Linked DNA regions of Homo sapiens: region 1 is linked to region 2. The links are contacts of gene promoters, found by promoter capture Hi-C in blood cells and fetal thymus (Javierre and others, 2016). All regions are on one chromosome and are shown on one strand. The core of a region is centred on a gene start or on the middle of the fragment in contact, and the rest is flanking DNA. Distances in the headings are between cores, read along the strand shown.

Region 1 (4,183 bases), core at 1,184-3,683, 510 kb after region 2:
TATAGTTTCTGAGAAGAAAAAAAATCTGTTTCATTATACATCATCTTACTTAGTCATTTCACTTAAAATTGCAGTTTCTAAGGACCTATCAACAACATAAAGTGAGGGCCTACCGTGTACCTTAACATACCTAACGTGTGTGTGTTGGGCGGGATTTGGCTACGGTTGATGTTAAAACATTAAACACTGAGGCAGGAGGATTGCTTGAGCCCAAGAGTACAAGGCTGCAGTGAGGCAAGATCATGCCACTGCACTCCAGCCTGGGTGATGGAGTGAGAGACCTTCTCAAAAACAGAAACAAAAAAGTTAAACAAAAATCCTCTAATCCATAGTAATACTTTAAAAAGAGAGGAAAAATGAAAGGAATAAACCCATTTTGCCATGCCCTACCTTGAAAATTAAAAATAATTTAAAGGGAAAAAGCATTTATCTTGCTTAAAAAAAAAAAAAGCGTATTATCCCTCTCGTATCTTGCTTTTTAAGGAATAGAGTTCATTTCTACCTGATCTGCACAAAGCTCTTCGTTATAAAGGAAACAGCTAATACACACAGAGGAACAGAATCTGAAGATATCATCCTGGAGCCCCATGGACCCCACGAGACATGGATGCTGACACCATCCAGTCAAACGTTGAGGACAGAATATTCACACAGCGCCAGAACCTCCCTCGAGATGAGCTGATAGTCATAAAGGGAAACATCCCAAAAGTTAGGGCACTTCCACACGGCCACAGCACCACAGCACCACGCATCGAAAGGAAGGTGTAGAAACCCCACAGTCCCACCTGTTCTCTGTGGTCTCGATGCCTCTGCGTCCGCTTTCCTCTTGTTATCCGCCCACCTCGGTCTCCCAAAGTGCGGGGATTACAGGTGTGAACCACCACACCTGGCTCTGCGTCTACTTTCTATATGCACATTCTACTGAATCACCTGGCTGGAATCGAGTTTCACCTTCTCCAGAAAACCTCCTTGTGTAGGTACAAATATGCACACCTCATCTCCCCAACTACGTGTCACTTCTTACGTGATTCACAGCATCCAGTCAAGAAATGTGCTGAGCCGACACATTAACAACGGGGAGTTCGGGTGGAGATGCCATCTAAGAGCCTCAGCGCACTCATGGCCACATGAAAACCCTCGCAGTTTCTGCAGGTGGAAGAAGCCCAGCACAAAGACCCACCTACTGTAGGGTTCCATTTACATCAAATGCCCAAACAGGCAAACCCAGAGACAGGAAGTGGATCAGTGGCTACTGAGGGCTGGGGGAGGATGGTGACAGGTAAGGGATGCCAGGTTTCTTTTTGGAGTGATGAAAATATCCGAATGGGGGGGTGAGGGGAGGGGGAATATCAGGATAAACAGCTAATGCATGTGGGGCCTAATGCCCAGGTGACGGGGTGATGGGTGCAGCAAACCACCATGGCATGTGCTTACTTATGTAACAAACCTGCACTTTCTGCACATGGATCCCAGAAATCAAAGTAAAATTAAAAAAAAGAAAAAAAAAGAAAATGTCACTATTGACTGGCAATAGTCATGCCACTAAAAGTCATTGAATTCTGCACTTTAAATGGGTGAGTTGGATGGCGTAACTTTACATCCCAATAAAGCTGTTAACAACCAAAGAGCCTACGGAGACAGAGTTCACAATCTCTAACCAATGCCACTTGGTTTGTCCCCGCAACATGGACCTCGCGGGCAGACAAGCTCATCGTGACAAGGACACCAGCAGCTCCATTCCCGGCACTCGCTCTGCCCCAGGCTCGGTGCTCAGCGCTCACACACGTTGTTTTGAGGAATTCCTAGAACATCCCCATAAGGTACTGAGGAGATGGAGGCTGGAGGCCAGGCTAGATCATGGGAAAGCCACCTCAGGCTGCCCAGATGACTGCAGAGGCAGCACCAGCTCCTCCCTACCTTGCGATACGAAGCACCCTCCTCCGCTTTAGCGACTCGCTGGTTCACGTAGAACACACGGGGGATGCTCAGCCTGATGCAGTGCAAGTCACTGCCAACGAGCGCCCACAGCCTGAACAGGCCGGCCTGGCTGGTCTCGCTGATCTGAAAGGCCACACGGACATACAGCACATCACAGGACACACTGGAACCCACAGACGGGGCCACCTTCCAGGTAGCTTGCAGCTCCCAGCACAGGGCCTTAGGCCTCCCTACGATGGGCAGGAAACTCCAGGCCCACTCTAACCCTCCCATCCCAGACCTCAGGGCCCAGCTGGACACCCCCTCCCTGGGCCATCAGCAGAGCCACTGCCCTCCCCTTGGATCAAGGTCTATACCTGCACAATCTGCCACGGAAGGTCCAGGATGCTGCGGGCAGTTCTTCGCAAGAAGCTCCCCAGCCCCGTGGCAGGACCATCCCGGATGGCCCCGGGCCTGAGCACACCCTCTGCCGACTCCAGACGCTGCCTCTTCCTGCGGGCGAGGCGCTGCCGGGCCTGCAGCTGCCACTTCTTCTTGTGGAACCGGAGCCAGACAAGCCATTCCTCCTGGGATGGATGGTGAGCACAGCCAGTGTGCAAGTGGTGAGATGGGAATGCCCGCCATGACTTTCTCACAAGCAGCCTCCCTAGGGGTCAGGACGCATCTCGGGCTCCCTGGGCTGTGCAGACCCCTCAGAGACAGACAGTATCACAGCTGTGTGCCTTACCTGGCTGGTTCCCAGGGCGGGAGGCTGCCCCAAGATTTCCTGCCAGGGCACAGTCGGCGTGAGGTCCTGGGACTCCTCCTGGCTCTCCCAAAGAACTCGCTTCCTCTTCACAGTGACAGGGGCTGCTGGGTGAGGCAGCTTTACGAGGCCGAAGTCCTCCATGTCAGGAGCACTTGGCCTCGGACTGTCTTCTGAGGCCTCGGCCATCGTGACCTGGAAAGACCCAGTGAAGCCTTAAATCTCAGGATCTCGGGCTGCGCAGGGTGGCTCATGCCTGGAATGCCAGCACTTTGGGAGGCCAAGACAGGAGAATTGCTTGGGGCCAGGAGTTTGAGACCAGCCTGGGTAACAGCAAGACCCTGTCTCTACAAAATATATTACAAATTAGCCAGGCGTGGTAGTGCGCCTGTAGTCCCAAGCTACTTGGTAGGCTGAGGCAGGAGGATCACTTGAACCCAGGAGTTGGAGGCTGCGGCGAACTATGATCACACCACTGAACTCCAGCCTGGGCAAGTGAGACCTTGCCTCATAAAAACAAGCAAACAAAAATCTCAGGATCTCATCCCCACAAATTCTACTTCTCGAAATCTAGTATAAGTATATCACCTGAAATGGGATGTTCGTTTACACAAGTTTATTGAACCTTTAATAGTGAAGGCCGGGTGTGGTGGCTCACGCCTGTCATCCCAGCACTTTGAGAGGCTGAGGTGGGCGGATCACTTGAGCCCAGGAGTTTGAGACTAGCCTGGCCAACATGGTGAAACTCCGTCTCTACAAAAAATAGAAAAATTAGCTGGGTGTGGTTGTGTGGGCCTGTGGTCCCAGCTACTTGGGAGGCTGAGGTGGAAGGATCACTTGAGCCTAGGAGGTAGGGGTTGCAGTGAGCCAAGGTTGCGCCACTGCATTCCAGCCTGGGCGAGAGGGTGAGACCCTCTTTCAAAAAAAAAGTGAAAAGATCAAACCGAAAAATAAAACGTCACTCAATACCACCAATAAGTAAATCTTTGCATTTTGCCATGTTTGCTCCAGAATGCTTTTTGTAAGAAAGAAAATATTGCAAATAATGGGTACAGCCCTCTTCTGTCTGCCCCCACACACCTTTAAATTTTTACCACATGTCCACAGACACATGCCACAGCTGTAAGTTTTAACCTAAATAGTAACATGTGGGACACATCTGACTGCAACTTGTTTCCTTTTTTTTTTTTTTTTTTTTTGAGACAGAATCTCACTCTGTTGTCCAGGCTGGAGCGCAATGGCACGATCTCATCTCACTGCAACCTCGCCTCCTGGGTTCAAGCAATTCTGCCTCAGCCTCCCAAGAAGCTAGGATTACAGGCACCTGCCACCAAGCCCGGCTAATTTTTTGTTGTATTTTTAGTAAAGATGGGGTTTCACCATGTTGGCCAGGCTGGTCTCGAACTCCTGACCTCAAGTGATCCACCCACCTCAGCCTTCCAAAGTGTTGAGATTACAGGCGTGAGCCACATGCCTGTCCCTGCAACTTGTTTCTTTATT
Region 2 (4,075 bases), core at 471-2,970:
GAGCTTGAGAGTGCTGAGACCACACTTGGCACCGATGTGGCAGGGACGCCTGACCCACGGCCACTCACAGCCTTGTGTGTGGGTGCCCAGGGAGGTGTTCCCTCAGCTGCCTGCCCGGGGCTGGGGCACCTGGAAAGTAGGACGAGATGCCGTGTGCCCGCAGCTGCTTCTGCAGGTCAGGATGGACGTCAGGGATGTCCTCGATAGGAACCAGGTCTTCGGTGACATTCCTTCTGACACAGTTAGGCTCAGCCAGCCACCTTGGCAGGAAAGGCTGGACCTGCCATCAAAAAGAAAGAGAGGCCAGGTGAGCGCTTTCCAGGCTCTCGCGCAGAAGCCCACGGTGGAAAAAGCTAGGGGAGGGAGGCTGGGGAAACCTCTGTCGTCTTCAGCTCCTTCTCAGCCCCAGGATGCGCTTTCCATACAGCCTTCAGAAGTTAAACAGTAAAAGCAGATGCCACTCCCTGAGCAAACTCACTCTGTAGCCTCCCATCAACCCACAGTGGCACCCACCCTCCCGCAGCCAGGAGGTCCTGTGACCTGGCGCTCGCCTGCCCCAGCCACGCCGGCGTCCCTGCCTCGAGGCCTCTGCCTGGCACCCCCAACCCCCAACCTTGACCTGGCTTCAAGTCTTTGCATCCCAACTCAAAGAGAACCTCCTCCACCTGCCCTACCTAAGGTGCCCGAGCACTCTGTCAAACTTCTCGCTTTCTTCACCTGTCTCGCCGGAAATCTCTTTACCGAAAACCACACGTGCTAAGCAAAAACACCAACGGTCAGGAGCTTGCAGAACGGCCTCTGACTTACTCCTGAGGCGGTGAGCGCACAGCAGGAAACCCCGCACGTTCACGCAAACACATCTTGCAGAACTGGCGCGGCGCGGCGGGAGGACAGGGGCAAGCCTAGCAGAGGAAACGGGAGCTCTGCACGTGCAGGATCCAGACCCCTAGGCGATGAAACTGCAGACCTGGCAGCGAGGCGCGGCTGTGACCCGGGAACATTCGCTGAACGAAATCTTCCGGGGCGACCGCCGCACTTAAGAATCCGCGCAGCCTACCCTCTCACGCCGACCACCCTCCCGCCCGCCGAGGCTCACCTTCGGCGCCTTCCTCTTCCCGAACCCCCCCAGCACCAGGCCGGGGACCAGGGGTCCGGCCGCCTCCTCCAGGGCCGGTCCATCTGGGGCCGCCTCGGCGCTGGCGCTGGTGCTGCGCTCCCCCGGCGCCTCCTCGCTGCTCCCTGCGCTGGGCTCCCCTGGCGCCTCCTCGCTGCTCCCTGCGCTGGGCTCCCCTGGCGCCTCCTCGTTGCTTTCTGCGAGGCAGACACCCACCCGGCAGCGCGTCAGCACCGAGTCGCCGGCGCCCCAGAGGGAGCCCGCTCGCCCCGCGGCCCACCTGCGCCCGCGTCCTCGCCGTCCGCCTTCCGTCGCTTTCCCTGCGGCGCCTCCGGGCTCCCCGGCTCCGCGTCGTTCACCCGCCGCCGCCGCCGGGGCCGCCGTCGCCTCCTGGTCGCCGGCTCGGTCGATGCAGCCGCCTCGGTCTGCGCGGGCTCCCGCTGCTGCTGCCGTTCGCGGGCCCGGCTCTGCAGCCGCTCGAGCAGCGCGCGGGCCCTGCCGTGCGCCCCGGCCTCCGCGCCCTCCGGCCCCGCCGCAGCTGCCGCATCGGGGCCCGGGTACCGCGCGACGTAGAACAGCGCCATGGCCAGCCGCACGCCTGGGACTCGGGCGTGGCGCGCTGCGATGACGTCGGCGGCACGCCTGCGACTCGGGCTCCGCGCAAAAGATGGGGTTGGGGTACGGCGCGTAGAGATGACGTCGGGTTCTACGCGCAGTGGTGACGTCACGGGAGCGCCGGCGGCTGAGAATCCGCGTTGTTCCGTGTTGGGGGCGGCATGGAGCGGGAGCCGGGCGCCGCGGGAGTTCGCCGGGCTCTGGGCCGCCGGCTGGAGGCGGTGCTGGCGAGCCGCAGTGAGGCCAACGCCGTGTTCGACATCCTGGCCGTGCTGCAGGTGGGCCTGGCGGCGTCGCAGGGCCGGAGTCGCGGCACGGGAGCGGGACTTGAATGGGGGGCTGCGGCGGCAGGTCCCCAGGAGGTTCCGAGACGGCGTTGGGGGGTCAGGGTGGGAGGCGTGTGGGTCACGGGTCGGGGGTGACGGGGCTGGCGTCCCGAGGGGGAAGGGAACGGGTTGGGGGCAGCCTAGGCAGGGGCGAAGGTGACAGTTGGCGGCCGGGCACCCTGCCGCCGCCTCTCCTGCAGTCTGAGGACCAGGAGGAGATCCAGGAAGCAGTCCGCACGTGCAGCCGTCTTTTCGGGGCCTTGCTGGAGCGGGGAGAGCTGTTTGTGGGCCAGCTGCCCTCTGAGGAGATGGTCATGACAGGTGAGCCCTGGAGGGCCCCGGGGCTGCTCTTCTCTTTCCGTGGGTCGGAGGGAGGCTTTGTCACCATGGGATGAGCGCCCCCAACCCTGGCACAGGCCGTGCAGGCTGGTGGGAGGACGCACCAAGCCCACCGTGGAAGATGGATGGTGGCGTTGGGGCAGGGGTGACATGGGTGCCCTGCAGCTGAGTGTAGATGAACACTGGACAAGGTACGACTTTTTGTGTGCTTTGCACCCCTTTTGTAATTTGATGTTGACTGATCCTGACACGGTCGCTTAAACTCGGAGCTTCCTTTATGTCCCCATCCTGGGGACGTCAGGTCTTGGAGTAAAGAGAGGGGATGTGGATCCTGCTCCTGGCAGCTTGGCTGGGGCAGTCCTGGGGTAGGAGGTGCTCTTCCTGTTTGCAGGGCTCAGGGAATGTGCTGGTCTCAGCACAGGTCTGGGGGCCTTAGCGACCTGTTTCCACCTGCGGAGGCTGAGTAGAAGACAATGGGAGGGTGGAGCCAGGCCTGAGATTTTGGGCTGGGCCCAGGGTGGCGTATGTGGGCCTCACGTGGGCTGACCACCCTAACCTGTCTGCAGGGTCCCAGGGAGCCACACGGAAGTACAAGGTGTGGATGAGACACCGCTATCACAGCTGCTGCAATCGCTTGGGAGAGCTCCTGGGCCACCCCTCCTTTCAGGTCAAGGTGGGTCATTGGGCTGGCCTCATCCTTGTCCATCCCCTGCACCCCAACTCCCAGGTTATCCACAAAGCAGAGGTCTGGGGCTCCCACAATTGTCCAGGCAAAGCTGCTTCCTTCATGGGAGCATCACCCTGTGGGTGTTCAGTCCCATTCAGAAACATGGCTATCGAGTCCTGTAGTGAATATTGAAGACGCAGAATCCGTGTTCATTTCCAGTGGCATCCACGGGGATCTCTGTGTTTGCATAGAGCACGCACACCAAGCCTCGTGCCAGTCCACAGATGTGTTTGCTCAGATCACACTGTGGTCTGCAGCCATGGGAATGCATTATGAGCTTTCTTAAAATCTGTAGTGAGGAATAACTGAGGCACAGTTTACCGTTTAAAGCTGAGAAGTTAGCATCTGTTACTGTGTTGTGCAGTGGTTGCCGCTATCCCAGAACATCTTTATCGCCCCGAAAAGAAATCCTGTACCAGTTACCATCGCTTCCATATCCCGCCCCTTTCCACCCCCAGCCCCAGGCAGCCACTCCTGGATCAGTGGTTACTTCCTGGATCAATGGGTTTGCTTTTTTTAGACGCTCCTCATAAGGGGGATCATACGGTATGTGGCTTCTTCCACTCATCGGCGTGTTCGAAGTTCGTTCTCTTTGTGGCTGAGTAGCAGCGCGTCGTATAGCACAGCACGTATCGTTCAGCCGCTCGTAGGTTGCTGGGCATTTGCGTCGTTTCCACCTTTGGCTGTTACGAACAGCGGACTGTGAACGTTCGCGTACAAACTCTTGTGTGATGTTTCTTTTGCTTGAATATGCCTTATCAGTGGAATTACAAGGCCACACAGCAGCTGTGTTTTTAATGTTCTGAGGAACTACAAGACTGTTTTCCATAGTAGCTGCGCTATCTTACCCTCCCCCTGGCAGCATTTGAGAGTTCCATACTCCACATCCTCGCCAACACGTCTGTCTATAATTATAGCCGAGCTGCAGACTTTTAAATGTTGGGGAGATACCAC

What was found. Contacts are between HindIII fragments. The CHiCAGO score rates a contact against its expected background, and 5 or more counts as called.
Region 1: a contact is called between a fragment that was not itself captured here and the fragment with the promoter of DDX51 in region 2, in 1 of 17 cell types (M0 macrophages). The highest score is 6.0, in M0 macrophages.

The regions. Positions count from the first base shown.
Region 1 is chr12:132,647,012-132,651,194 of GRCh38, forward strand. It overlaps POLE (DNA polymerase epsilon, catalytic subunit), which reads right to left. Exons shown (of 49, transcript NM_006231.4): 30 at 2,666-2,878; 31 at 2,295-2,504; 32 at 1,918-2,061. Among named protein-coding and RNA genes, the nearest start is that of P2RX2, 30 kb to the left of the region's middle. The HindIII fragment of the contact is 6,987 bases long and covers 1-4,183 here.
Region 2 is chr12:132,142,599-132,146,673 of GRCh38, forward strand. DDX51 (DEAD-box helicase 51) reads right to left here and starts at 1,721. Exons shown (of 15, transcript NM_175066.4): 1 at 1,395-1,721; 2 at 1,097-1,311; 3 at 130-280. The coding sequence starts at 1,698. NOC4L (nucleolar complex associated 4 homolog) reads left to right here and starts at 1,859. Exons shown (of 15, transcript NM_024078.3): 1 at 1,859-2,007; 2 at 2,256-2,376; 3 at 2,961-3,067. The coding sequence starts at 1,891. RefSeq lists enhancers at 1-712, 1,642-1,941 and silencers at 1,312-1,511, 1,582-1,631. The HindIII fragment of the contact is 30,339 bases long and covers 1-4,075 here.